5 separate regions of the Homo sapiens genome follow, and all the other regions are linked to region 2. Evidence: promoter capture Hi-C in 16 types of primary human blood cells and fetal thymus (Javierre and others, 2016). All regions are on one chromosome and are shown on one strand. The core of a region is centred on a gene start or on the middle of the fragment in contact, and the rest is flanking DNA. Distances in the headings are between cores, read along the strand shown.

Region 1 (5,659 bases), core at 855-3,354, 280 kb before region 2:
TTGAGATGAAGAGTCTCGCTCGCTCCGTCGCCCAGACTGGAGTGCAATGGCGTGATCTCGGCTCACTGCAACCTCCGCCTCCTGTGTTTAAGCAATTCTCCTGCCTCACCCTCCCAAGTAGCTGGGATTACAGGCACTGGCCACCACACCCGGCCAATTTTTTGTATTTTTAGTAGAGACGGGGTTTCATCATGTTCGCCAGGCTAGTCTTGAACTCCTGACCTCAAGTGATCCACCCGCCTCCGCCTCCCAAAGTGCTGGGATTACAGGTGTGAGCCACCAGGCCCGGCCTGGGAAATGTGCTTTCTAGCCACGCAGCATGTGCCCAGCTAAAATATGGCCATTCTATTTATTAAAGAGAGAAGGAGAAACTACGCATTTGAGGATGACTAGCAGTCAATGCTGTGTAATCTGCCTCCAGGGTTCTCAGCAGTGTTCTCAGTAAATATGAGTATCCCATGGATTAGGTGGTTTAATTTCTTATCATAAAACAATCATAAGTATCAAGTTTTTATCTATGAATTGGTTAGGGAGATTTAGGCTGCAAGTAACAGAATACTAAGCTAAAAGTTGTCTAAAGAGTTGGGAGTTTCCTAGCTTAGCCAACATAAGAGGAGACCTCTATCTTTACAAATAATTTTTTTTTTTTTTTTTTTTTTGGAGACAGAGGCTTGCTCTGTTGCCCAGGCTGGAGCGCAGTGGTGCGATCTCGGCTCACTGCAACCTCCACCTCCCGGGTTCAAGTGATTCTTCTGCCTCAGCCTCCCAAGTAGCTGGGACTACAGGCACATACCACCACGCCTGGCTAATTTTTGTATTTTTAGTAGAGATGGGGTTTCCTCATGTTGGCCAGGCTGGTCTTGAACTCCTGAACTCGTGATCTGCCCGCCTCAGCCTCCCAAAGTGCTGGGATTACAGGCGTGAGCCACTGTGCCCGGCCTTCTCCGAATAATTTTTTTAAATGAGCCAGGTGCGGTGGTATGTGCCTGTGGTCCCAGCTACTCAGGAGGCTGAGGCAGGAGGATCGTCTGAGCCTGGGAGGTCAAGGCTGCAGTGAGCCATGATCACACCACTACAGTCCAGCCTCCAGCCTCTGCAATGGAGTGAGAGTGTCTCAAAAAAAAAAAAAAAAAAAAAAAAACACAACAAAAAAACCCCACAGGACTTTTATCTTAAGATATCTTGGGGTAGACCATTTTTGAGTCAAGGCCCTCATGGTTGAAAGATGACTACCGTGGCTCCAAGCATCATATCCACAGAGAGCAACTAAATAACAGCTGTTATATATTGAGTACTTATCATGTGCTAGAACTGTCTGGGCATTTTAGGTGTATTCACTCATTTGATTTTCACAGCACCCTGAGAAGAAAGTCCAATTATTTTCATTTTGCAGAGGAGGAACACGAGGTACAGAAAGGTCAAGTAATCTGCTTAAGACAACACAGCCAATCGGAGGCAGAGCCATGCTTTTAGCCCAGATGGTTTGACCCTGGAGCCTGCACTTTTGTGTGGCTGCATTTGCCACGGGCAGCATCTCAGGAAGGGAGGCTTGGACAGGGGTCCTCCTAAAACATCTCTTTTTGTAAGAGGAGGAAAATTCCTCCCAGAAGCCCCCAGCAGCCTCCCCCTCTTATCTCATTGGCCAGAACAGGGTCCCATGGTTCTCCCCAACCCAATTACCAGCAGAGGGGAGTGGATCAAATGTAAATATCCCAGTCACCATCCACCTGGGGGTAATTAGTACATTGTCCTCCCACCAGAACAAAACAAGCTTCTTTTAGCAAGGAAGCGGGGGGGCAAATATCTGCCCCTAGGCAGAACCCATGGTTGGTAGCTGGGGTCCGCCAGCCCACTGGGATTGAAATAAGGTTGGCTCAGACCCCATCCCTTACTTTCCACAAGGCTTCTGCAATTTCTCAGGCTTACAATTGTGTGCCTCTGATTTCCGGCTTCTGCTGAATTCTAGCAGCTGTTCCCTTTATTTCTGCCCTGGAATTGACTCAAATGTAGGATGCAGCCCGTTTCTTCTCCCAAGAAACCGTGGATACCAGACTGCTCTGTAAGCAGAATTTCACTAAGATTTGTGGGTCCCTGGAAGAGTTATAGAGTGGCTCAGCACACGACTGAAAGTGGCACTGGGACGTCTCTGCTCTTACAAGCTGGTTTCTCAGGCATCCTCCAGCCCCGCCCGCACAGGGCTGCTGCTCCCATCTGCTGGCGCCCATGCCCATCTACCCGCCTCCCTTCTTCAGCCCCTGCGTGACAGACACCTCGATGCCCCAGGGGCTTCCAATTCTCACACAGGAGACCCTGCATTTCAGCTCTCCCTAGCCCCTCCTGCTCTTCCCAAACCAGGCTGCCAAGCCAAACCCAGTAAGGGCCTTTTAAGAACAAAAGGGCCTTTTAGTTAATGCAGCAGGATCTACTTTCCTTAGAAGGAAGCTTTGGTTATAAATAACAACCTTTCCCCTCTGGATTCCTCCAGGTGCATTGGAAATTCAAATTTCAGAATAAGCTGACTGCCAAGAGGGCCCTCCCCCTGTCGGGAGTCCCTTAGTCCATGGGAAATTCACAGAGAAGGAAACAGTCACTTTTCCTGCACCTGAGAAGGTAAAAATCAAACTGCCTTAGAAAGATTCTGTCCTCCTAAAAACTGGTGCCTCTGTACACCTCAAGGAGTCAGCAGGCTCTCCCTCCGAGGCTTAAAAGCCTCAGGGATTTCTTTTTTTCTTTTTTTCTTTTTTTTTTTTTGAGACGGAGTCTCGCTCTGTCACCCAGGCTGGAGTGCAGTGGCGCGGTCTTGGCTCACTGCAACCTCTGCCTGCCGGGTTCAAGTGATTCTCCTGCCTCAGCCACCTGTGAGCCACCGTGCCAGCCAGCCTCAGTGATTTCTTAGGAGCCTGTTGTATGCAATCTTGAGGGCTGAAGAAGTGAGAGGGACCCACCCCATCCTACCTCTACAGAATGCTTGGCACCCCCACCAATGTTCCTAGACTCCATCTCAGGACCAAGGTAGTGTAGACCCAAAGCCCGGCCCTATCCTGGCTCCCAAGCATCCCACAGCCTCTGGGGTAGAGGTGGTTAGAGGCACCAGCTCTAGACCTTGGCTGCCTTCTGTCTGCCCTCAGGGTCTGCTCAGATCAGGACACCCCCTCCCCCAGGCTGGGGCTCAGCCTCAGCATCCTTGGCAGGGCTCCCCACAGGGGCATTTCCACAACTTTCCAGCCCTGGCCTCCTGTTCAAGGGTTCGGCCTCAGGCAGGACTAGAGCTGAGTTGCAGAGGAGGAGGAGGAGCGGGGAGAGAGCCGAGTAGTTCAGGTTGCCGCAGGGGAGACAGGAGGGAGGAGAAGAGAAGGAGGGGAGGGAGCGAAGGTCCTCAGAACCCAAGTGCGGGGCAGCCTCAGGAAGGTGACTTCTGTTATTCTCCCTGTGTGCTGTGTCTTTAGGAAAATCCCCCTCACACGACAGCCCAACAGCCTTATACCCGCAGTTGCTCTGGGAGCAGGGGAAAATGTCCTGCAGTTCTTGCCCCTCATTTGGGTCAACTCCAGGACAGAAGTAAAGGCGACAGCTGCAAGGAATCAGCAGAAGCAGGACAGCAGCCATGAGCACATGAGCCCCCAGAGCTGGCAGAAACCTTGGAGGCTTTGTGTAGCTACAGTGATGGCCACGTCTGGGCTGGCACTCACCTTATGCCAGTCTCTAGGGAGGAGCCCGCATTTGCAGGCTGGGTTACATCTTTTCCCCTCTTCCACGCTGGGATTCTTTTTTTTTTTTTTTTTTTTTTTTGAGACAGAGTCTCGCTCTGTCGCCCAGGCTGGAGTGCAGTGGTGCGATCTCGGCTCACTGCAAACTCCGCCTCCCAGGTTCAAGCAATTCTCCTGCCTCAGCCTCCGGAGTAGCTGGGATTACAGGCACCCACCCCCATGCCCGGCTAATTTTTGTATTTTTAGTAGAGACAGGGTTTCGCCATGTTGGCCAAGCTAGTCTCAAACTCCTGACCTCAGGTGATCCGCCTGCCTTGGCCTCCCAAAGTGCGGGGATTACAAGCATGAGCCACCGTGCCCGGCCTGGAAATTGTTTTTTTTTTTAAACCCTCAGGTGATTCTGACTCTCCTGGAACCTGAGAACCACCAGTCTACGGGAACAGAGCCCTGCTTTGGGTCAGGTGTGTATAACTATGGTATTCCCTTTCTTCTCTGCCTCTATTGTTGATGTTGTTTTTTTGTTTTTTGTTTTTTTTTGAAACGGAGTCTCGCTGTTGCCCAGGCTGGAGTGCAGTGGCGCAATCTCGGCTCACTACAATCTCCGCCTCTGGGGTTCACGCCATTCTCCTGCCTCAGCCTCCCGAGTAGCTGGTAAGGGAGGAGACCACCCCTCACATTGTCTTATGCCCAATTTCTGCCTCCAAAGAAAGAAGTAAAAACTAAAAGGCAGAAATGAAATCCACAGGCAGACAGCCCGGCGCTGCACCCTGGGCCTGGTAGTTAAAGATCGACCCCTGACCTAATCAGTTATGTTGTCTATAGATTACAGACATTGTATAGAAATGCACTGTGAAAATCCCTATCTGTTTTGTTCCGATCTAGTTACCAGTGCATGCAGACCCCAGTCACGTACCCCTTGCTTGCTCAATCAATCCCGACCCCCTCACACGCACCCTCCTTAGAGTTGTGAGCCCTTAAAAGGGATAGGAATTGCTCACTCGGGGAGCTCGGCTCTCGAGACAGGAGTCTTGCCGATGCCCCCAGCCGATTAAACCCCTTCCTTCAACTCGGTGTCTGAGGAGTTTTGTCTGCAGCTCGTCCTGCTACACTGGGACTACAGGCGCTCGCCACCACGCCCGGCTAATTTTTTATATTTTTTAGTAGAGGCAGGGTTTCACCGTGTTAGCCAGGATGGTCTCGATTGCCTGACCTCATGATCCGCCTGCCTTGGCCTCCCAAAGTGTTGGGATTACAGGCGTGAGCCACCGCGCCCGGCCCCACTCTCTACCTCTGTTTGTTTAGGGGCAGGCATAGAATCCCATTCTAGTCAATGAGACAGAAAGGGGTTCTGGAAAGTTCCCCCACCCCCTTATAAAACAAGGAGGACGTCTTCAAGGAGGACGTCTGAGGAGAAGCTTTGCCGTGGCCTTTTGCCTTTGGATGCTGCCAGAGGGGTTAGAAGGCGGAGCTCCACAGTCAGGCAGCTGGGGTGTGTATCCTAGCGGGGAGAGCAAGAGACAGTGGGACAAAAATAATAACAGTAATAGCAGCAATGCTTCTTGAGGACTTTCCGCATGGCAGGCCCTATTCTAAGCACCTCATGTAGCATATTTTACCCTCAAACAGTCCTGAGGTAGGTTCTGTTATTGCGATTTTATAAATGAGGAAACTGAAGCACAGACAAGTTTAAATAACTCGTTCAAAGTCATACAGCTCATACATGGAGGCCAGCATGCAGGCCAGGTGTGTGGGGTATGGGCATTGCGGGCTACTTTAGGGACCCTGACCTTTTCCTCAGCATAGTGGGAAGCTGGTGAAAGGTTTTAAGCAGGGGTGGCCCCTCTGATTTACCTTTTTTTTTTTTTTTTTTTTTTTGAGACAGTGTCTCACTCTGTTGCCCAGGCTGGAGCGCACTGGTGAGATCTTGGCTCACTGCAGCCTCAAACTCCTGG
Region 2 (5,556 bases), core at 3,057-5,556:
AACCCGGGAGGCGGAGCTTGCAGTGAGCCGAGATCGCGCCACTGCACTCCAGCCTGGGTGACAGAGCAAGCCTCCGTCTCAAAAATAAAAATTAAAAAATAAACCAAAGACAGCCACAGTAGAATAGATAGAAAAAAGGCTTAAGGCCTGCGTTAGCCTAGCAGAATTTAAAATTTGCCTGGGGGAAACAGGACATAAAATTGTGCCATAGAAGTCACCAACAGGGTCAGCCACAGTGTCCAGCACTTTGGGAGGCCAAGGCTGGAGGAGGGAGGGAGCCCAAGAGTTTGAGACCAGCCTCGGCAACAAAGTGAGACCCCATCTCTACAAAAAATTAAAAAATAAAATTAGCTGGGCATGATGGTGCGTACCTGCAGCCCCAGCTACTACTCAAGAGACTGAAATGGGAGGATAGCTTGAGCTCAGGAGGTCAAGGGTGACAGAGCAAGACCCCGTCTCTCCCTCTCTCTCTCTCTTTTTTTTTGTTTTGTTTTTTTTTTTTTTTTTGAGATGGAGTCTTGCTCTTGTCACCCAGGCTGGAATGCAATGGCATGATCTCAGCTCACTGCAACCTCCGCCTCCCGGATTCAAGCGATTCTCCTGCCTCAGCCTCCCGAGTAGCTGGGATTACAGGCGCCTGCCACCATGCCCGGCTAATTTTTGTATTTTCAGTAGAGACAAGGTTTCGTCATGTTGGCCAGGCTGGTCTCAAACTCCTGACCTCATGATCCGCCTGCCTCGGCCTCCCAAAGTGCTGGGATTGCAGGTGTGAGTCACCATGCCCGGCCTAAGGCCCCGTCTCTTAAAAAAAAAAAAAAAAAGTCACCAACAGTTAGCGAGTGCTTACTCTGTGCTAGGCCTTGTAATAAAATACCATCTTAGCCTCACAACAGCCCTGCAACAAGGTAAGTGCCATCATCCCATTTTACAGATGAAGAAGTAAGCAGAGAAGTAGTGATTTGCTCCGGGTCACAGAGGTAGGAAGAGTGGAACTATGGTTCAAACCCAGCAGCTGGGCTCCAGAGCCCCCACTCAGAGCCACCCTGTGCGATGGCCTCACTGGAGCACAGGAGTGGAAATGAGAGGTGCTGTGATGCGAAAGGAGAATGGCCGCGGAGGTGAAAAACAAGCTCTCCTGACAGCAGCAGGCCTGTGAGATGGCTATTGTCCCCACTTCATAAAGGAAGAGAGTGAGGCTTACAGGGATTGTCATTGATCCCAGGCCACAGGGAACCATGCGGCAGAGCCAGATTTTAACCCAGATCTGCTGGCCTCTAGGACCCTGCCTCTTAATGTCCCTCTTAACAGAGGGATGTTGCCTAGAGACTGGCTGCAGCGCAGGGGCACTGAACTCTGGAGGAGGCTGAGCTAGTCCTGGAGCTGGGGAAAAGTATTCCCACAGGGAGCACAGAAGGCCCAGGGGTGTTGAAGGACAGGAAATAGCCCACAGCTAAGGCTCTACGGGTATAGGTGACGAAGGGGAGAAAGCCAGAGTAAGGGCAGCAATCCTGAGGGTCAGGCTGAGGGCCAGGCTGTCCTGGGAAGTGGTGAGACTTCCATCTCAGGACGTGTCTAAAGGGGACTGGACTGGTTTAGAAATGTATGAATGGGCCCGAGGGATGGCCTGGCTGTCTGCTGGCACCTTCCAAACCAGAGGATGACAAAGAAAAGTACGTTTGAAAGTTGTGCAACATAGGGCCAGAGTGGCCTTGTGTGGCCGCAAGGAGGCAGGAGAAGAGGAGGCTTCCAGAAGAGGCTGAGCGGGGACTGAGACCTGGGCAGGGGGAGGACAGCAGAGACACACAGATGGGAGGGCACCTGGAGTGAAGTGTGGACAGCATCTGGAGGTGGCAGGAAGCAGCAGGAGGCCAGGGGCCAGGATGATGGGGGCTGGTTACAGAGGTGGAAACTTGGAAATAGGTTTCAAGTGGGGAAGAGGCCAGAGGAATGCAGGTTGAGACACAGCAGGAGAGATGGCTGGAAGTATCAGCGTCAGGGAGTCACAGCTATAGGAAGGACAGGAGAGCAGAGAAAGGAAGGGAAATTTAGAAACCCGAAGACCAGATAATGAAGTTTCATGCCTTCCAGGAGGAAGAGCTGCTAAGGAGGTGAGAGGAGGGCAGAGAAACATCCTTGGGGGCGCCAGGACCAGGATGGCAGGAAGGGGTGTGGATGTTCTTGGCCACTCTCCTTCCATTTTGAGGGCCTTAATGAAGGAGGCAGCATCACAGTAATGGTCCCACAGCAGCTGCTCCATGGGTATTGCATGTGTGGGTGCATAAATGCATTAATCAAGAGTACTGGGGTCTGGGCAAGGTGGCTCACGCCTGTAGTCCTAGCACTTTGGGAGGCTGAGGCAGGCAGATCACATGAGACCAGGAGTTCGAGCCCAGCCTGTCCAACATGGTGAAACCCCATCTCTACTCAAAATACAAAAATTAGCCAGGCGTGGTGGCGGGCGCCTGTAGTGCCAGCTACTCGGGAGGCTGAGGCATGAGAATCACTTGAACCCAGGAGGCGGAGGCTGCAGTGAGCCAAGCCAGCCTGGGCGACAGAGCAAGACTCCATCTAAAAAAAAGAAAAAAAAAAGTCTGCAAGGATCTCACTGAATTTTAGTGAAAACCCTCTAAGGAGAGATTACCCCCATTTAACAGATGAGAAAAATAAGATTAATTTGCAAAAAATAAGTAGGGAAGCCTCCACTGTGGTTCTGAGGTGGAGGAGGGTCCTCTGTCTCTCAGTGGTGGTGGGAGTCGGTTCTGATTACAGGAAGGAAGAGTGGGTGTTTAGTTTTCTTTTCTTTTCTTTTCTTTTTTTTTTTGTGACGGAGTCTCGCTCTGTCGCCCAGGCTGGAGTGCAGTGGTGCGATCTCGGCTCACTGCAAGCTCCACCTCCCAGGTTCATGCCATTCTCCTGCCTCAGCTACTCGGGAAATAGCTGGGACTACAGGCAGCCGCCACCACGCCCAGCTAATTTTTTTTGTATTTTTAGTAGAGATGGGTTTTCACCGTGTTAGCCAGGATGGTCTTGATCTCCTGACCTCGTGATCCACCCGTCTCGGCCTCCCAAAGTGCTGGGATTACAGGTGTAAGCTACCACGCCCAGCCTTGTTTGCTTTTCTGAGACGGAGTCTCGCTGTGTTGCCCAGGCTGGAGTGCAGTGGTGCGATCTCGGCTCACTGCAACCTCCGCCTCCTGGGTTCAAGCGATTCTCCTGCCTCGGCCTCCCGAGTAACTGGGACTGCAAGCACCTGCCACCATGCCCGGTTAATTTTTGTATTTTGAGTAGAGACGGGGTTTCACTATATTAGCCAGACTGGTCTCAAACTCCTGTCCTAGAGTGATCCGCCCACCTCGACCTCTTAAAGTACTGGGATTACAGGCATGAGTCACTGTGCCCAGACTGGTTTTGTTTAGAATCCACCCCTTGTCCTGCCTCTCCCAGGGGTCTATGAGGAGCCCACTAATCTTTAATCCATGGCCCTAGGTTCAGGGGAGGGGGTTGGGCCAGGGCAGGCCATGGGAAGTGAAGTGGACTTGGGGGGAGTCAGAAAGCTTTGGTGTGGCCTCTTGTGCCCAAGACAACCCAGGAGGTTCATGGTCCTGAAGCCAATGTAATCTAGGGCCCAAACCTTCTAATCTCAGGGTGGGCAGAATCTAGGTGTAGAATGGGGTGAGTTCAGGGGGGCTCCACATAGACAGAGGGTGTGGGACCCTCACCTTGGCACTAGAAGAGTTCAGGCCTCCTCAAACAGATGGGGCTCAGGACAGCAGAGGGGACAGAGAGGGCTGCTCTGCCAGCATGTCCCAGAAGTGCATGTGGATATAGAGGGCAGCAGCTGCTGAGATGGCCGTGGGCATTAGGCTATGCTGGAGTGGGGACACCTCACCCCGACTATGCCAGCTCGCACCGGGCACTTTCACTTCCCTTAGTATAGGCTCCTTGCACTCTGCTACCCACAGTTTGCATCAGAAGAAATGGAAGAGACCTGCTTAAGGTCACATCACACACCCACTGGCAGAGCAGGGACTCTGCACAGGGTGGTCTAACTGCAAAGTCTGCCATCCTGCCATTCCCCTTGGGGCTGGAAAAGAAAGGTTTCTAACTTGCTTTCAAAGCGAGTTCCTATCAGCCCCGTTGTGGGCAAGGTGGGGCTGCTACCCGTTCTAGAGGGCCTGCTCAGTGGAGCTGGGGCCAAGCTGGGCCTCTCCAGTCGGCTGCGGGGGCGCACCCCCGGGCGCTGGGAGTCCAGGCCCGGTTTTGCATCAGGCCCTGCCGAGGTGTTTCCTCCTCCTCCGTGTGGGGCAGCTGCTGGCTGGGCTGCCTGTTGAGTCAGCCTTCTTCCCTCACGGCTCTTCTCCCGGTCCCTGAAACTCGGCTGCCAGGGGAGCTGGAGCCACCTGCGAAGGTGTCCTCCCATACTGGACCCCTACAGGTAACACGTGTCGGTGCCAGGGTCCCCTGCCAGGGTCCAGAGACGCAGGCACTGCCACCTGGTATCCTGAGCACCCTCCAGCACCTTGGGGTTGGGGGAGGTGGGCACATGTCTGGAACTGGAACAGCTGGACAGATGGACAGACCCTCCTCTTGACCAATGGGTCTGTCCCACCGTGTCAAAACAGCAGAGAAGACCAAACTCCTACCTAACTCTGGTAGGAGATTCTGCCTCTGGTTGGTAGGAGAGGGGACTTCAGGGAGGGGGCACTGCTGAGGACGCTGGGCTGATGCCCATGGCCCAGCTCAGGCAGGCCTGAAGGACAGAAATAGGCTCAGTTCTGCCGAACGTCCCCCCGGCCTCCATCCACACTCAGACACACACACCTGGTGGCCCCCAAGGCACCAGGGGACACCCCACAGCACACAGCCCAGTCACACATACAGCACAGGAGGAAATGCACAATGCATACTGTACACACCCCACACGGCGCTGTCACCTAGAAAGTCACTGAACACACCACACAGACAATATAGTCACCATGCAGCATCACACTGCAACAGGACACAAAGACACACAGCAACTACACAGCTCACAGACTCACGCAACGCAGACATGCCCACCAGACTCGGACCCACACAGCCACACAACAGGGCACAGAGAGGGACGTGGGCTCACACCCCAATCCACAGGGGAGGCCGAACGTGGGCTCACACCCCAATCCACAGGGGAGGCCGAACGTGGGCTCACACGTTGGCCACAGAAGTCCAGGGAAACTGCTGTTGTGGAGCACACAGGTATCCACAGAGTGAATGCACACCGTGCAGCCGTGCTGAGGCCTTCTGCTCCTGAGGGTGTCAAGAGGGATCGCTGGGGCTCGGCCACTGACTCAGCTGGGAGGGGACAGAGCATAGCAGGCGGCGGACACAAGCCAGGACCTGCCCGCCAAGCTGCCTCCGCCGGTCTCAGCCCCACCTGGAGCCGTGGCAATGGAAGGGGCGGGGAAGAGAGGAGAGGCCGCCCAGTGGGCTCAGGACACAGCCCTGACCAAGTCATGGGCCCCTTGCCACGTCTACATGCCCCTCAGCGCTGGGCAAATGCTTTCTTTCCGGAGTCACTGT
Region 3 (5,385 bases), core at 797-3,296, 300 kb before region 2:
CCCTGACCTTTCCCTCTAAAGGGGGCTCCCCAGTTACTCTCCATGTTTTCACCTTTGTTGTGGTCAGCCCAGCACTGATGGGTCACCTTGTTTACTGCAGTGTGACTTGTTTCAGGGTCTTCCCCACTAGAGTGTAAGCTCCATGAGGGCAGCGTGCTCATTGTCTGTGGTACCTGGAATCTGGCTGGTACCAGATAAATGCACATGGAATATATAGTACATGTCTGTGTTTATTTCCCCTTTGTTGTCCCTGGGCCATTGCTAACATCTTGTTTGCAGGTCCAAGCCTGGTTTCTTCTCTCCACCGGGCTCTAAAGGGAATGGGCCAAGCTTCCCCCCAACATTTGGGCCAGAGTATGAAAGAGGGGCTAGTGCTCTGCAGGTGCCCCTGTGGTGGGGGGCAGCAGAGGTTGCTGGGTGAGCTCAAGGGGCTTTGAGCCTCCTGGGGTTGAGAGGTCCGGGCGCCTCCAACTTTGATTTGCTTTTGGTACAGAGGGCAGCATTTCCTCCAGCTTCTATGTGTATCCCGGCCCCCGGGCTTCCTCTCTGAGCAGGACTTTCATTGTTTTCTGTCTGCCTTGTGCCCATTTCCTCCTTCCTCCCTCACTCCTGAGGACGAACTCCTCCTCTTATCAAAGGACAGCCCTTCCTGTCTTCCCATTACATTCAAAGCCCCTTTCTCTTTGGGGAGGAGCCCCCACTACATGAGTCTTGATGGACATCTGGGCCCTATTGCCCACTATAGAAGCTGGAGGGGACCACAGACCCCTCTTCCTACTCCCTGGCAGAGAGGACATGGGCACATAACCTGGGGCGGCCAAGGGGCGTAGCCCAGGGCTTGGAGTGAGTGATGCCAAGACAGGAGGGTAAGAATTCACTTAGAAAGGAGGCTTTTGCCAGCCCAGCCAATATGGTGAAACCCTGTCTCTACTGAAAATACAAAAAAAAAAAAAAAAAATTAGCCGGGCGTGGTGGCGCATGCCTGTAATCCCAGCTACTTGGGAGGCTGAGGCAGGAGAATTGCTTGAACCCGGGAGGCTGAGGTTGCAGTGAGCTGAGATCGCGCCACTGCACTCCAGCCTGGGTGACAGAGGGAGACTCTGTCTCAAAAAAAAAAAAAAAAGGAAAGAAAAGTGGTCTTTGGTAGCAGTTGCCAATGTGGTGTCTGATGGTGACAGTGATATCCAGATGTCTTGCAGCAGGCTTGGCCTGTCCAATGCTGTCACTTCCTTCGTTCCTGCTTTTATCTGAGCTTGGGAGGTAGTTTGAGAAGTCGCTGGTGCAGTTATGGAGGGGTGGGGAAAGCAAGATCCCTTTGGAGAGGAGCTAACAGGGTTTCCTGCCCCAGAGCTCTGCCACCACTCAGATGCCCAGAACCTGCCCCCCAAATTCCACTCTCTGAGAGTTCAGGGTTGAGCCCCCTCCCTCCTCCACCATATCTCCTGAGGCCCCTCCCACCAGGTATCCCAGCTGAAGAGGTTCTTCCCTGGGAACTGCTGCCTCAGCCCAGATTCAAGTCAGACAACAGGAAGGACTTCCTGACTGGGGGGGATGGGAGGCCCTGGACAAGGTCAGTGGGGGCATTTCTATCCCAAGACAAGGGACTGACTTCTGGAGGCCCTTTTCCAAATGACAGACAAAAAGAGCAGAGTCTTCTTCAGCCTGGCCAGGGCGGGCAGGGAAGGTTTTTAGAACAGGGTGAAGCACTTAGGGCCAAAGAGCACCAAGATTAAGAGCTCAGACTCCCTTGTTACATCCCAGCTCTGTCACTAACTAGTTGTGTCATCTTGGGTAAGCTACTTAACTCTGCTTCAGTTTTTTTAATCTGTAAAATGGGAGCAATAGTAGTACCTATCTCAGGAGGTTTAAATCAGTGAGTTGAAATTTGTAAAGTGTCAGAGCAATGCCTGGCACAAAGTGACTATTATATAAATTATTTATTTATTTATTTATTTATTTATTTTTTTGAGATGGAGTCTCTCTCTGTCTCCCAGGCTGGAGTGCAATGGTGTGATCTTGGCTCACTACAACCTCTGCGTCCCAGGTTCAAGCAATTCTCCTGCCTCAGCCTCCCGAGTAGCTGGGATTACAGGCGTGCATCACCATGCCTGGCTAATTTTGTATTTTTAGTAGAGACGGGGTTTCTCCATGTTGGTCAGGGTGGTCTCCAACTCCCAACTGCAGGTGATCTGCCTGCCTCGGCCTCCCAGAGCGCTGGGATTACAGGCGTGAGCCACGGTGCCCAGCCATAAATGTTTAATAAAATAAAGATATTAGCAGCTTCCATGTGGGAGCCACCTGGGCGCTGGGCACTGTGCCAGATTCTTTATTTGCATTACCTCGAATCCCCACATTACTCGATCAGATAATTCTTCTTGCTCCTATCCTGCAGATGAGGAAACTGAGGCCCAGAGAGGGGAAGTCAGTTGTGTAAGTTGACCTAGACAGATTCTTCGAGTTCCCTACATTATCACACTCTTGCTTTTCTCCACCACAAAGGCAAAACATTGATGAGGCAGGGGGACGGACAAAATGGGCCTTCCAGAGGTGCTCTCAGACCCTCCCAGCCACACTACAGCCGCAGAGCCCTCCGCTCACAAACCATCCTGGCCTCATCAGAACCTGGGGAGGGTTCCTAGTTGTGCAGGGTAAGTAGTATGCTCAGAGCTGCAAACATCTCATTAAGCAATTACCACAGGGAGCACCAAGGCAAGGAAGTGATCTCACTGCCATCTCGACACCACCCTGCCGCCAGGGTGGGAGTAATGGGGGTAATCATGGCAGCGGTGGCAGTGACATTGATGGTGATGCTGAGTGACGAAAAGGTGATGGCTCTATTAGATCTCGATGTTGGCGGAGGAAGTGAGGGGGCTGGTAATGACTTGAGGGTAGTTCAAGTGATTGCTAATGGTGGTGGCAGATCATAGTCTTGGTGGAGAGGTGACAGTGGTAGTGGTGATTTGTGGGGCAGACGCTGTGGCTTGGCTCTCTCAAGTCCATTTTACCCTCCTAGCTGGGGCAGCTGGACAGCAAAGCACTGCCTGTCCCTTCCCTGCTGTGCCTGCGTGGGGGACAGGCTCCACCAAGAGACTCACTGCAGCAGGGTTTGGAAGGCAGAAGTGAGGCTCAATCCTCTCTGTGCTTCAGTTTCCTCATTTACAAAATAGGAATAGGCCAGGCGCGGTGGCTCTCGCCTGTAATCCCAGCACTTTGGGAGGCCGAGGCGGGTGGATCACCTGAGGTCAGGAGTTCGAAACTAGTCTGAGCAACATGGTGAAACCCCATCTCTACTAAAAATACAAAACTTAGCTGGGCGTTGTGGTGGGCACCTGTAATCCCAGCTACTTGGGAGGCTGAGGCAGGAGAATTGCTTGAACCCAGGAGGCGGAGATTGCTGTGAGCTGATACCACACCACTGTACTCCAGCCTGGGTGACAAGAGTGAAACTGTGTCTCAAAAAAATAAAAATAAAAATAAATAAATAAATAAAAATAAAATAGAAATAATAATAGAACAGTGCCTGGCACATAATAGGCACTATGTAAGTGTTGGTTGTTGTTGCTAAATTGTCATTTTATTAATTTTAAGTTATTTTGTGCCCCCTTTTGGCTGTTTCTGCCAGCCTGCAAGGTTGCAGGAACACGAGGTTTTTCTGCACTGGTGATCTGGTGTCAGGCTCCAGCCTCGAGCTTGCTCAGAGGTAGTCGCAGGGATGAAAGCAGGGGTAGCAGCTTCTTAAATCCAGCTTTCTGATCCCTGCATTGAAGCTTCAGTGGTAAGTTGTTGAATTCATAGCTCTGGCGTTGACTTTCTCAGTGGGTCGAGTATGGAAAGGTCTGGAATCATTCCTGGAGGCCTGGCTCATTGAGCCTCTCTGATGGTTGTGCAAGGACCTACTGCTCTGTATTAAATACTTTGCTGCTAAAAACACCAAGAGGGGTTTCTGTTTCCTGCATTGACCCTGCCCTCACCAGACCCTGCCGCATTCTCTGCATCCCCTCTTCTGGGTCCTCATCTCTGCTGCTCCTTCCTTGGCGTCATCATTGCCACCTCCATGCGTTCTGGAACTCTACCTTCCAGGCTCCCCCTCCCTGAGTCCTCTCCTCTCGGTCTCTTCCTCTTCCTCCTTCACGGTGGGGCTTCTCGGGGGGCTGGCCACCGCAGCCTCACATGTCCCAAACTCATTGCATGGTCTTCTCTCCCCAGTTTGGCCTGTTTTAGCCTGGGGCCCAAACCACAAAGAAAGCTGGGAGCCTCCTTAGAACTTGAGCCTCTTTCCTCCCTCCACTCTGTCTGGGCCTTCTAACATTCAGTGAGCGCCTACTGTGTACTGGGCCGAGCAGCACCCAGAGTTGAGGCTGACCCAGTGTGGGCTCCTGGATGTATGTAAACACCTGTGAAGTTCCGCAAATGGGAGGGATGGGGGAGAGCTCTGTAATAAGTCTAGATTTTTAACAGTCAACAGGGAGGTTCAAAGATGCGGCCGCCTTGCCTCAGTTTGGGTCGCCTCTAAAGGGCCCTTTCAGCCCCAGAATTCCCTGTGGAATAGGCTGAGGCCTTGGCTGTAGCTTCTGCTTCTCACTCCCTTTTGGGGTGGTCCCTGAGAGCAGCCCCCCGTAAGCTGCTGAGTGAGGATCTCCTCTGAGTCTGTTTCAGGGTCCCAGAGCCCAGAGCCCAGAGCCCAGAGTGACTGCTCCTGAGACAACCAACCAGCCATAGTGGAGGCTCTGGCTTGGCTTCAGCCCCCCGAGGGTCAGACTTTACTGCCTCCTCCTTCTTTCTCCATTTCGGGAGCCACCGCCTGAGGCCAAGGTTGTGGCCTGTCTAAATCTCCACAGCTTCTTAAGTGGTTTCCCCCCCCCCGGCTCTCTTGCCTCTTCTGACCCCTTCTCCACAGGGCAGCCAGAAGGATCCAAGCAGATCCAGCCAATCTCCAGCTTAAGCCCTTCAAGGCTACCCATTGCTTTGACGATAAATTGAGCTCCTGACCCCGGGGGTTACCTCCCAGCTCTGCACACCTCCTCTCAGCTGCTGCAGCTGCCTCAAGGCTGCCTCCCTGTTCCCCATGCCTCCCTCTGTAGCAGGGCTCTTTTCCATTTCCCTCAGCTCCTTTCCAGCCTTCAAATTTCAGTCAAATGTCCCATCCTCAGGGACAAGGGCATGTCTGCTCCCCAGGGGCAGCCTGTTACTGGTTAATGGGAGGCTCAAAGGCCTGGCCACCTTGCCTCAGTTTGGGTCCACTCTGAAGGGCCTTCCCAGTTTCTCAGGGAAACCACTTCTTTTTTTTTTTTTTTTTTCGAGGTGGAGTCTCCCTCTGTCGCCCAGGCTGGAGTGCAGTGGCGCGATCTCGGCTCACTGCAACCTCTGCCTCCCGGGTTCACGCCA
Region 4 (5,831 bases), core at 2,063-4,562, 330 kb after region 2:
ACACTCCTCCCATCCCCCAGCACCCTTATATGCCTCCTTACTTGTCCCCTTACCTGCACCCTTATCTGTTCCCTTACCTGCACCCTTACCTGCATCCTTACCCACATCCTTACCTGCATCCTTACCCGCATCCTTACCCGCACCCTTACCTGCATCCTTACCTGCATCCTTACCCGCATCCTTACCTGCATCCTTACCCGCATCCTTACCTGCACCCTTACCTGCATCCTTACCCGCATCCTTACCTGCATCCTTACCCGCATCTTTACCTGCATCCTTACCCGCATCCTTACCTGCACCCTTACTTGCATCCTTACCTGCACCCTTACCTGTCCCCTTACCTGCATCCTTACCCGCATTCTCACCTGCCTCCACCCCACTGCAAGTGAAGAGCAGCAGGTAGCACAAGAAAAGCGATACCGCCTTCTGCCGCATGGTGGCGCCGCGCGCGGGCTCCGTCACTAGACCTGCGAACGGGCGAGAGGGAGATGGTCCCCGGAGCATTTTTGGAGCTCATCAGCTCCGTTGTTTTCCCTTCCAGTTCCAACTGAATCAGTAAAAAGCAGCGAGGTGTGGTGAATGGAACCCAGGATCCCTCTCAGGAGCCTCGGGAATCCGTTTCCTCTCCGCATCAGTGGCAGAGATGTCCCTGCCCCAACCGGTGGGTGTGCGGATTCTGTGCGGATTCGCACGGTGTTTGGCACGTGGTAAGCTCCGCAGATGTCAATATCATGACTGTGGTTGTTCCTGGCCTTGTACCCAAGTGACCTTGGGCAGGATACTAGGGTACTTTGCTTCTCTGGGCTTCAGTTTGTTTATTTCTAAAATTGGGGTATTAATAGAGTCTATTTCAGAGGGTACTTGTTAATTTAATAACTGTTCCACGCTGTATCCCCGGCACTTTGAACAGTGCCTGACGCATAGAATTTGCTTTAAAAAAATTTTTAAGACAAACTCATTCTTACAATGCATTGAATATCTACTGGCACCAAACGTTGGCCTCACATCAACTTAATTTTTTTTTCAGAAAGAAAGCACAGAAGGGTGTGTGGAAAAAGAAACTCAGTTTCCCTCACCGTACGAGAGGCTTCTGACAGCAGAAGTGTGGGGGTTTCTCCCCACCAGCAAGCAAACAATCAGTCCTCTGGTGAACACCAGCTGAGGGTCCCCAAATTCAATTCTGACACCACTATGGGTAGATAGTGGCCGATCCCACATGTTGAGGGTTCAGTCCCCCAGACTGCCAATCGAAAGCCCTAGGTTGTTTTACCTGTGTTTCTGACTGACTATAAACTGGGGTTCCCACAATTCCCTCCTGCAGTTTTACTAATTTGCTAGAGCAGCTCACAGAACTCAGGGAAACACTTTACTTACATATACTGGTTTCTTTCTTTAAAAAAAAAAAATTGATCTTGTTGTTGTTTTGAGACAGGGTCTCACTCTATTGCTCAGGCTGGAGTGCAGTGGCCCCATCTCAGCTCACTGAGACCTTCGCCTCCCAGGCTCAAGTGATCCTCCCACCTCAGCCTCCAGCATAGCTGGGACTACAGGTATGCACCACCACGCCCAACTAATTTTTTTTTTTTTTTTTGAGATGGGGTTTCACCATGTTGCCCAGGCTGATCTTGAACTCCTGAACTCACGCAATCTGCCTGCCTCAGCCTCCCAAAGTGCTGAGATTACAGGCATCAGCCACCATACCCAGCTACATTTACTGGTTCCTTATGGATATTACAAATGCTCCGGATGAAGAGATGCATAGGGCAAGGTATGGGAGAAAGGGCATGGAGTTTCCATTCCTCTCCAGAAGCACCACCCACTGGAGACCTCCTTGTATTCGGCTATCTGGAAGCTTGTCAAACCCTGTCCTTTTGTGTTTTTATGGAGGCTTCATTACATAGGCATGACTGATTAAATCACTGCCCATTGGTAATCAGCTTAACCTTCAGCCCCTCTCCCCTCCCCAGAGGAAATGCCAGCCATCAGTCAACTTATTAGACAGTTATCACTCAAAAGATATTTATCACTTTGAAGATTCCAAGGATTTTAGGAGTTGTATGCCAGGAACTGGGGGATGAAAAAATATATTTTACAATATCACAAGGGATAAAGGTCACACAGCAAATTGTGCAACATGGGTACACATTCAAGACAGTCAGAATTCATGAACCTATGCTCTTTCCTTTATACCACAAAACTGGAAAATGCATATGCCCTCAGACTCACCTCTAATATGATCTTTGTCAGATCAATGCTATTTTCTTAAGTTAAAAAGAAAAACAAGAAACTCCTCTCATGTATTGAGTACTTAGCACTTTATGGCACGCAGTCCACTTGTACCTATAACAACACCACGAAGTAGGTACCATTGTTATCAACCACATGTTATAGATAAGGAAACTGAAGCTCAGAGAGGTTAAGTAATATTCCCAAGGCTGCCTAGCCAGGTCATGGCAAAGTCAGGGTTTAAACCCACAATTGGCTAATACCCAAGCCCACATTTTTTTTTTTTTTTTTTTGAGATGGAGTCTTTCTCTGTCGCCCAGGCTGGAGTGCAGTGGCGCAATCTCATCTCACTGCAAGCTCCACCTCCCAGGTTCATGCCATTCTCCTGCCTGCCTCAGCCTCCCGAGTAGCTGAGACTACAGGCGCCCACCACCAAGCCCGGCTAATTTTTTTTGTATTTTTAGTAGAGACAGGGTTTCACTGTGTTAGCCAGGATGGTCTCGATCTCCTGACCTCGTGATCCGTGGGTCTCGGCCTCCCAAAGTGCTGGGATTACAGGCGTGAACCACCACGCCCGGCCACCAAGCCCACATTTTTAACAACCACTCCAGATGGCTTCATCTATCCTTAAAGATGAACTCACTGTCACATTGGATCCTATAATAAAGGGGATTCTAAAATCATCCAGTCCTTTGAGCAGCAAAGGCAACTTAACTTTCCTTTTACAGAGGAAGTAATTAAGGCTCCAAGAGGTGACAGTGTTAAGGCCACAGATCGCTGATATTGCACCTGTAAGCTGGGTCTCATGCCACTTGGGGTTTTGCATCCCATCTCCCTAAAAATCTCCAACCCATCCTCTTAGACAAGTCCCAGCCCAGAGCACTAAAAGGGACCCAGGAGTGCTGCCTCCCAGGAGAAGGGGCCTCCTGGCTCTCAGAACATGAGATTTACAGGCAGACAGGCAGCCTGGCAGAGGGTGGCAGCTTGATGCCCACACTTCATAGCTCCTGAGTTTACCTTGGAGGAGAGAAGAGAAGCAATCTTCAGCCCGGAGCCTGCTGATAGATGGGCACAGCAGCGAGTAAACGGTTCTCCGGCTGAAGGCTGGCTTTTTATCATCACTTGTGGATCCTCCCACGTCTCACCCTAGGCAGCCAATCCCTGTCGGAGTTTCTATTTCTGCACTCTGCAGTTTCATTTTCCCCTCTCTCCCAGCTCCTGCACTCTGCAGAGTTTCATTTTCCCCTCTCTCCCAGCTCCGCCCAGCGGGAACATTTGTGTGCTGCCTGCTGGCAGAAAAATGCACTTCAAGCTGAGGACTTTTGGAGCCGCTAAGGGTATTCAAAGCATGTCACACTATGATGAGAGCCACGGCCATACTGGGCTTAGTGAAGCCTGATCACCAGCTCCCCCTGGGGCACACAGGCCTTTCACCATTCAGTCCAATTAGTAAACAACACCTATCATTTATTGAGCACTTGCTGCATGCCAGGGTCTGTGCAAAGTGCTCTATTTACATGATCTTTTTCCAATCCCACAGTAGTCATGTGACATACCATATGCTGTTTATAAACCCCCAGAACTTTGGAAATTAAGTCACTTTGTTCCATTGTTCTCTCAGGCTGGCTGCTTCTGGGTCATGGGCATATGGTAAGACCAGTGAAGCCTGTGTTCATGTGGCCATCATGATAGATCTTGAGTTTCAAGATGGGTCCCCTGGCCCTAGGTAATGAACTGAGCATTCTTTAAAGCCTTTGGATGGTGATGCTTGAAGTGCTATGGGTCAGAAATGCAACCTCTATTTGGAGAACATAGAAATTCCAGTAAGGATGAATCATTGCCTTCTCCCAAGTGGAAGGGGTCTGAAATAATTGACCTGCCACCAGATGGCTGGCTATTCTCATTGAGAAATTTTGCCATATTGCTACCTGCTGCTGGCAGATTGGCTATATTTTGGCAATTGCCAGATCAGTTTTGGTGAGAGGGAGCCCAAGTTGTTGGACTCATTTCTAACCCCCATCCTTACCACCTTGGACACTCATAGGTCTATTGCAAGGCAATAGTGAGGCTAAGTTTAGAGGCTGGCTGACATCCACAGGATGGGACATCCTGGCCATTGGGCTGTAGAGCCTCCTCTGCAGCAGATGATCTCTGGTCAGCATTAACATGAGACATAGAGATCCAGGTGCTTTATGCCCATTCAGAGTTCATTCTTATGCCCCTAACCCACACCTGCTTATTCCCAATCTTCCAATCTTGTTCCATCCATGCCTTTGACCAACCAGCCAAGCCATTTGCCTCTTATTAGGAATTGGTGTATGTCTGTACTTCAGTCCATCTCTCTCTCTCTCTCTCTGCATACAGAGGGAACAACACGGTATACTGCTCCTAGTTCTGCCCCCTGGGAGGATTCACTATTATTCAGTGCCACCCCCAAATGGGGCTGTAATAGAGTGGTCCGTTTCCAGCTGATACCAAAATATTATACTGACTTATCTGTGAATTGAGTTTGACTCCTTTCCTCCATTATCTGTTGGTTGCTGGGAACACTCCATGAGGCCATATATATGGGTCAAAGAGAAAACCCAGAGAAACAGAGTTGGGCGCCACAGGACTCTGAGCTCCCTGTTTATTTAATTTACTCAAGCCTTTTAGACCCCTTTGCTCAGCCTTGAATATACCATTTCCATCATATATTTTTTGTTTTGTTTTGTTCTTTGTTTTTTGTTGTTTTTGTTTTTGTTTTTGAGACAGTCTTGCACTGTTCCCCAGGCTGGAGTGCAGTGGTGTGATCTTGGTTTACTGCAACCTCTGCCTCCTGGGTTCAAGCGATTCTCCTGCCTCAGCCTCCCAAGTAGCTGGGATTACAGGTGCGCGCCACCATGCCCGGCTAATGTTTTTTGTATTTTTAGTAGAGATGGGGTTTTGCCATGTTGGCCAGGCTGGTCTTGAACTCCTGACCTCAGGTGATCCACCCACCTCTACCTCCCAAAGTGCTGAGATTACAGGTGTGAGCTGCTGTGCCTGGCCTCTTTGTTGTTTTGTCGGTTGGTTGGTTGGTTTGTTAGAGACAGGGTCTCACTCTGTTGCCGGGGCTGGAGTGCAGTGGTACAATCATAGCTTACCGCAGCCTTGACTTCCTAGGCTCAAGAAATCCTCCCAACTCACCCTCCCAAGTATCTGGGACTATAGGCATGTGCCACCACACCCAGCTAATTTTTATATTTCTTTTAGAGATGGAGGTCTCACTACATTGCCCATGCTAGTCTCCAACTCCTGGCTCCAAGTGATCCTTCTGCCTCGAGGTCTTAAAGTGCTGGGATTACAGGCATGAGCCAATGCGCCCAGCTTCCATCACATATGGAACTGCTGCTCTACCTTTCTGATAATACCCAACTTAAGATATATAGCTACCTGGCACCCAGTGGTGAGATGTGTAGTCACTACTGGGGCCCAGTGACACATCAGGGCCTCTTTTCCCAAAGGGACCACAGTAAGCATAGCCTTACTGCAGAATCCTAAGAATCCTAACCGTAATTCTCCTATGTGGGCTTTCAGAAACTTTCTACAGAATCTTTTTTCTCCCTCCCTACAGAATTGTTATC
Region 5 (5,187 bases), core at 884-3,383, 310 kb after region 2:
TGACAGAGAAGAAAAGGGAACTGAACTTGCCCTTTTATAATGAATCTGTTCCCAGAATAATAATCCCACTCCTGCTATAACAGCACCACCAATCCATTCATGAGGGTGAAACCCTCATGACCTAAACACCTCTCCTTAGGCCCAACCTCCCAACACTGTTGTATGGGGTTAAGTTCCCAGCACCTGCTTTTCGCGGCGTAATGTTCAAACTGTAGCAATATTCTAGTCTAGTTTTTCTGGTTTGCATTTCTTTTGAGTTTGAGCTTCTTTTTATGTGTTTAAGAATCACTTATATTTACTTTTCTGGGAACCGTCAGTTCATATGCTAGGCCTCTATTTCTTTCTTTTTTTCTTTTTTCTTTTTTTTTGAGATGGAGTTTCGCTCTTGTTGCCCAGGCTGGAGTGCAATGGCGTGATCTCGGCTCACTGCAACCTCCGCCTCCCAGGTTCAAGCGATTCTCCTGCCTCAGCCTCCTGAGTAACTCGGATTACAGGCAGGCGCCACCATGCCCAGCTAATTTTTTTGTATTTTTAGTAGAGACGGGGTTTCTCCATGTTGGTCAGGCTGGTCTTGAACTCCCGACCTCAGGTGATCTGCCCACCTTGGCCTCCCAAATTGCTGGGATTACAGGCGTGAGCCACCGCGCCCGGCCTAGGCCTCTATTTCTATAAGATTAATCAATTTCCTGGAATTCTTTCTAAATAAGCGAGATGTTCCCTTGTCTGTGATTAGAGTTGTAAATATTTCCCCCAGATTGTCATTTGTCTTATGCGTTGATTTATAGTGTTTTTCCATGCAGAAGTTTTTGATTTTTATATAGTTGACTTTATCAATCTTTTCTTTTTACAGCTTTTTGATTTTTGAGTCATGGTTAAACTTTCTCCACTATGAGATTATACATTCTCCCATGTTTTCCTCTAGTGCCTTTACGGTTTTATTTTGATTTTTCAAACATTTAAATATTTTATCCCTTGGGAGCTCATCCTGGTGCTCAGTGTGAGGCACGGATCTAATTTTTTTTTTCCTAGTTGGCTACCTAGGTGTCCCAACACCATTTATTAAAGAGTCCATTTTCCACTTTGAGAGGACACCTTTATCAAATACTAAATTCTCGCGTGCAATTAGGTCTATTTCTGGACTTTCTATTCTAGTCCATTGGTCTGTTTGTCTCTTCCTGAACCAAACCAAGTGGTTTTAATTATTATTTTTTGTTTTGTTTTGTTTTGAGACCGAGTCTCGCTCTGTCGCCCAGGCTGGAGTGCAGTGGTTTGATCTCGGCTCACTGCAACCTCTGCCTCCTGGGTTCAAGCAATCCTCCTGCCTCAGCCTCCCAAGTGGCTAGGATTATAGGCACCCACCATCACGTCTGGCTAATTTTTATATTTTTAGTAGAGAAGGGGTTTCACCATGTTGGCCAGGCTTGTCTCGAACTCCTGACCTCAAGTGATCCACTCGCCTCGGCCTCCCAAAGTGCAGGGATTACAGGCATGAGCCAGCATGCCCAGACTTAATTATTTATTTATTCTTATTTTATTTTTTTGAGATGGAATCTCTTTTCATCGTCTAGGACGCTGGAGTGCAGTGGCATGATCTCGGCTCACTGCAACCTCTGCCTCCTGGGTTCAAGTGATTCTCCTGCCTCAACCTCCTGAGTAGCTGGGACTATAGGCGCCTGCCACCAGGCCAGGCTAATTTGGCTAATTTTTGTATTTTTTTTTTTTTTAAGATGGAGTCTCACTCTGTTGCCCAGGCTGGAGTGCAGTGGCATGATCTTGGGTCACTGCAACCTCCAACTCCCGGGTTCAAGCAGTTCTCTGCCTCCGTCTACCAAGTAGCTGGGACTATAGGCATGCACCACCACACCCAGGTAATTTTTGTATTTTTAGTAGAGACAGGGTTTCACCACATTGGCCAGGCTGGTCTCGAACTCCTGACCTCAGGTGATCCGCCTGCCTCGGCCTCCCAAAGTGCTGGGATTACAGGCGTGAGCCACCATGCCCGGCTCTTAATTTTTGTATTTTTAGTAGAGATGGGGTTTCACCATGTTGGCCAGTCTGGTCTTGAACTCCTGACCGCAAGTGATCCACTCGCCTTGGCCTCCGAAAGTGCTGGGATTACAGGCGTGAGCCACCCCATCAAGCCCCAAGTTGTTTTAATTTTTGAGGCTTTAAATATTGTTATCTAACAGTAGTCAGTGAGTGTTGCCTTTTTTTTTTTCCAGAATTTTTCTGGCATTCTTTTTCTTTCTCTCTCTTCTGTCCTTTTTTTGTTTGTTTTTGGGGGTGGGGAACCTCAGGAGACCTCATGGGATTTATGCCTTTGCAGGAAAAAGAAAATCAATAATTACATGTTATTTGGTAGTGGCTAAGAAAAAAAATAAAGCAGGTAAAAGAGCAGAAGGCAACTAAGGGGTAATATTTAGATAGGCAGCCAGGGAAGTCCCCTGGATGAGGGGGAGATACCTGAGTGAAGGATGGGAGACCACGTGGCTACCTGGGGGAAGACATGCCTGGCAGGGCCAAGGGCAAATGCAGAGGCCTGAGGCAGGAGCACGCCTGGCATGCTGAAAAACAGCAAGGCGGCCAGTGCAGCTGGAAGGGAGTGATCAGAGCAGAGAGTGGGAGGCAGTGAGGTAGATCACGCAGGGCCTTGTAGGTCACAGCAAGGACATTGGCTTTTCCTCTGACACCAGGAGCCATGGGGGGGGCGAGGGGGTTGAGCAGAAGAGTGACATGTTCTGACCTCCGTTTTAACAGGATCACTCAGGCTACTGCGTGGAGTGCAGACTGCAGGGGTGAGGGTAGCGGCAGGGAGGGCAATAGGATTTGGGATGGGTGAATAAATTGTAACTTGGTTTCCTTGTCCATTTTCCCCCATCAAACTGTGAGCTTTGCAAGGACAGGCCCTGAGCTTATTCAGCTCTATGAGCCAAGTGCCAGGCCCAGAGTAGGCGCGGATAAACACTGTGTGAGGAAGAAGGGTGGGAAGACAGAGGAGGAGACAGGAGGCAGGAGAGGCAGAGCCCCCTGGGAAATGGCTCTGCAAAGGCCACAGAAAGAAGAGGAAGCAGACATGATGACAGAGCCTGTTCCCCAGCAGGAACCAAGGCCAGGAAGGGCTGAAGCTGGGGAGCTGGGCCCCCAACCCCGGATCTGTGGCCCCCATTAACAATCAGGTTATGTGCAGTTTATGCTGGAGTTCTGCCAACAAAAGGACCCTGGCCGGGGGGGGTGGGGTGGGGATCTGTTCCTCAAGGTGAAGGTGCAAAGGTGAGGTGGCCTGGCAGAGAGGAGAGCAGCTTTCCTGAATCCTTGCACACAGAGGCCCTGAGAAAGGATAATTCACCCCCTTTATAGATGGTAAGTTGAGGCTCCATGAAAGAAACAGACCTAAGTGATACAGCAAATAGGTGGCCTGGCCTAGTTTCAGGGGCTTGGCCTCTCCAAAACACCTCCTTGGCCACTACCTAATTTGGTCGGGGTCCCCTGCAGTTTTAGGGAGTGACTAAATACAGAAGGAAGGGATGACTCCTGTTATTCAGCCAGCTCTTAGCTGCTGCCAAAGCACAGCTGGTGAGTCCTCACTGTGGGCGGGACCCAGCTTGGGGAACAAAAGCCACAGGACACTTCAGGACCTCATGAGGCTTAGGAAAGAATTGGCCTGGAAGTAGGGCAGATAGACAAGAGGCACCAAGCTGAGGGGCAGAGGAAAGAGGTCAGGCTTTGAAGTTAGGCCTGGCTTTGCCACTATCTTGCTGTGTTATCTTAGGTAACTAGCACCTCAGTTTGCGCATCTGTAAAATGGGAACGACAAGTCCTGCTTTATAGGGCTGGCATGGGGGTTGAAAGGGGCAACAGAAGTCCAGTGCTACCTGAAAGTGCTTCCTTCTTAGCTTCCCCGCTCCCAGACTGGGGACCTGCTATCCCTGTCTTCAGCAGATGCTGGTTGGCTGCTCCTGAGCAAAGGGGAAATGGGCTGCGATGGCGGCTCAAGTCCCAGGCCTACAAATGGGTACAGGCTGTGGGGGATCTGGCCAGTGCTGACACCTAGGGGCTCTTTCAGGATTAGGTGAGCTTGCACATGCCCTCAGGACAGTTGAGTAGGTCTTGGCTCTGCACCAACTACCTCAGGCAAGGTAATCACTCTCTCTGGGCCTCAGCTCCAGGGAATCTCTTCGGCAATGGTTGGGGGTGGGCAGGAATTAGAGGTCTTCTAATTGCAAACGGAGTGGGCTGCTTCAAGAGTAGTGAGCTCCCTGCCTCTGGAGGTATGTAAGCAGGGACTGGACAAGCACTGGGTAGAGATTCACTCACTCATTAATTCAATAAACTCCTACTGAGATTCCATTTTGGGCCAGGGCCTGTGGCCATCATTGTCATTAGGAGATATAGTGACAAGGCATCTTTACTCTCCTGTAACTTACATCTTTTTTTTTTTTTTTTTTTTTTTTTGAGACGGAGTTTCCCTCTTGTTGCCCAGGCTGAAGTGCAATGGCGCGATCTCGGCTCACTGCAACCTCCGTCTCCCAGGTTCAAATGATTCTCCTGCCTCAGCCTCCCAAGTAGCTGGGATTACAGGCGCCCACCACCACGACTGGCTAAGTTTTGTATTTTTTTAGTAAAGATGGGGTTTTGCCATGTTGGCCAGGCTGGTCTTGAACTCCTGACCTCAGGTGATCCACCCGCCTCGGCCTCCCAAAGTGTTGGGATTACAGGTGTGAGCCACCACACTCGGTCTCCTCTCCGCCCCCTCCCCTTCCCTCCCTTCTCTTCTCTTCTCTTTTTTTTTTTAGACAGGGTCTTGCTCTGTTGCCCAGGCTGGAGTGCAATGGCTTGATCTTAAGCTTAACTGCAGCCTCAACCTCCTATGCAGAAGTGATGCTCATGCCTCAGCCTCCCGATTAGCTGGAACTACAGGTACATGCCAGGTATGCTCAGCTAATTTTAAAAAATTTTTAGTAGAGGCCAGGCATGGTGGCTCATGCCTGTAGTCCCAGCACTTCAGGAGGCTGAGGCGGGTGGATCACCTGAGGTCAGGAGTTCGAGACCAGCCTGACCAACATGGAGAAACCCCATCTCTACTAAAAAAAATACAAAATTAGCCAGGCATGGTGGTGCATGCCTGTAATCCCAGCTACTTGGGAGGCTGAGGCAGAAGAATTGCTTGAACCCGGGAGGTGGAGGTTG

The links. The method cuts DNA at HindIII sites, captures the fragments that hold promoters and counts their contacts. A CHiCAGO score of 5 or more calls a contact.
Region 1: a fragment that was not itself captured here is called in contact with the fragment with the promoter of SYTL1 in region 2 in 2 of 17 cell types (M1 macrophages and erythroblasts); the score reaches 6.3 in M1 macrophages.
Region 3: a contact is called between a fragment that was not itself captured here and the fragment with the promoter of SYTL1 in region 2, in 1 of 17 cell types (M1 macrophages). The highest score is 5.9, in M1 macrophages.
Region 4: the fragment with the promoter of IFI6 here is called in contact with the fragment with the promoter of SYTL1 in region 2 in 1 of 17 cell types (naive B cells); the score reaches 5.3 in naive B cells.
Region 5: a contact is called between a fragment that was not itself captured here and the fragment with the promoter of SYTL1 in region 2, in 5 of 17 cell types (total CD4 T cells, non-activated CD4 T cells, fetal thymus and 2 more). The highest score is 5.6, in total CD4 T cells.

What each region holds. Positions count from the first base shown.
Region 1 is chr1:27,055,913-27,061,571 of GRCh38, forward strand. LOC101928391 (a long non-coding RNA gene) reads left to right here. Exons shown (of 8, transcript XR_007065559.1): 6 at 2,486-2,610; 7 at 4,102-4,168. Among named protein-coding and RNA genes, the nearest start is that of TENT5B, 46 kb to the left of the region's middle. RefSeq lists silencers at 2,126-2,420, 3,146-3,440. The HindIII fragment of the contact is 671 bases long and covers 1,770-2,440 here.
Region 2 is chr1:27,337,716-27,343,271 of GRCh38, forward strand. SYTL1 (synaptotagmin like 1) reads left to right here and starts at 4,307. Exons shown (of 15, transcript NM_001193308.2): 1 at 4,307-4,435. RefSeq lists enhancers at 3,928-4,187, 4,718-4,767, 4,942-5,556. The HindIII fragment of the contact is 10,600 bases long and covers 3,553-5,556 here.
Region 3 is chr1:27,035,389-27,040,773 of GRCh38, forward strand. It overlaps LOC101928391 (a long non-coding RNA gene), which reads left to right. Exons shown (of 8, transcript XR_007065559.1): 3 at 2,500-2,648. Among named protein-coding and RNA genes, the nearest start is that of TENT5B, 25 kb to the left of the region's middle. RefSeq lists enhancers at 1-19, 2,575-3,075. The HindIII fragment of the contact is 3,437 bases long and covers 329-3,765 here.
Region 4 is chr1:27,668,880-27,674,710 of GRCh38, forward strand. It overlaps IFI6 (interferon alpha inducible protein 6), which reads right to left and starts at 3,313. Exons shown (of 5, transcript NM_002038.4): 1 at 3,244-3,313; 2 at 366-467. The coding sequence starts at 435. RefSeq lists enhancers at 507-566, 3,345-3,684. The HindIII fragment of the contact is 12,379 bases long and covers 1,851-5,831 here.
Region 5 is chr1:27,652,728-27,657,914 of GRCh38, forward strand. No RefSeq gene overlaps it. Among named protein-coding and RNA genes, the nearest start is that of LINC02574, 7.4 kb to the right of the region's middle. RefSeq lists a silencer at 1,784-2,186. The HindIII fragment of the contact is 5,418 bases long and covers 1-4,842 here.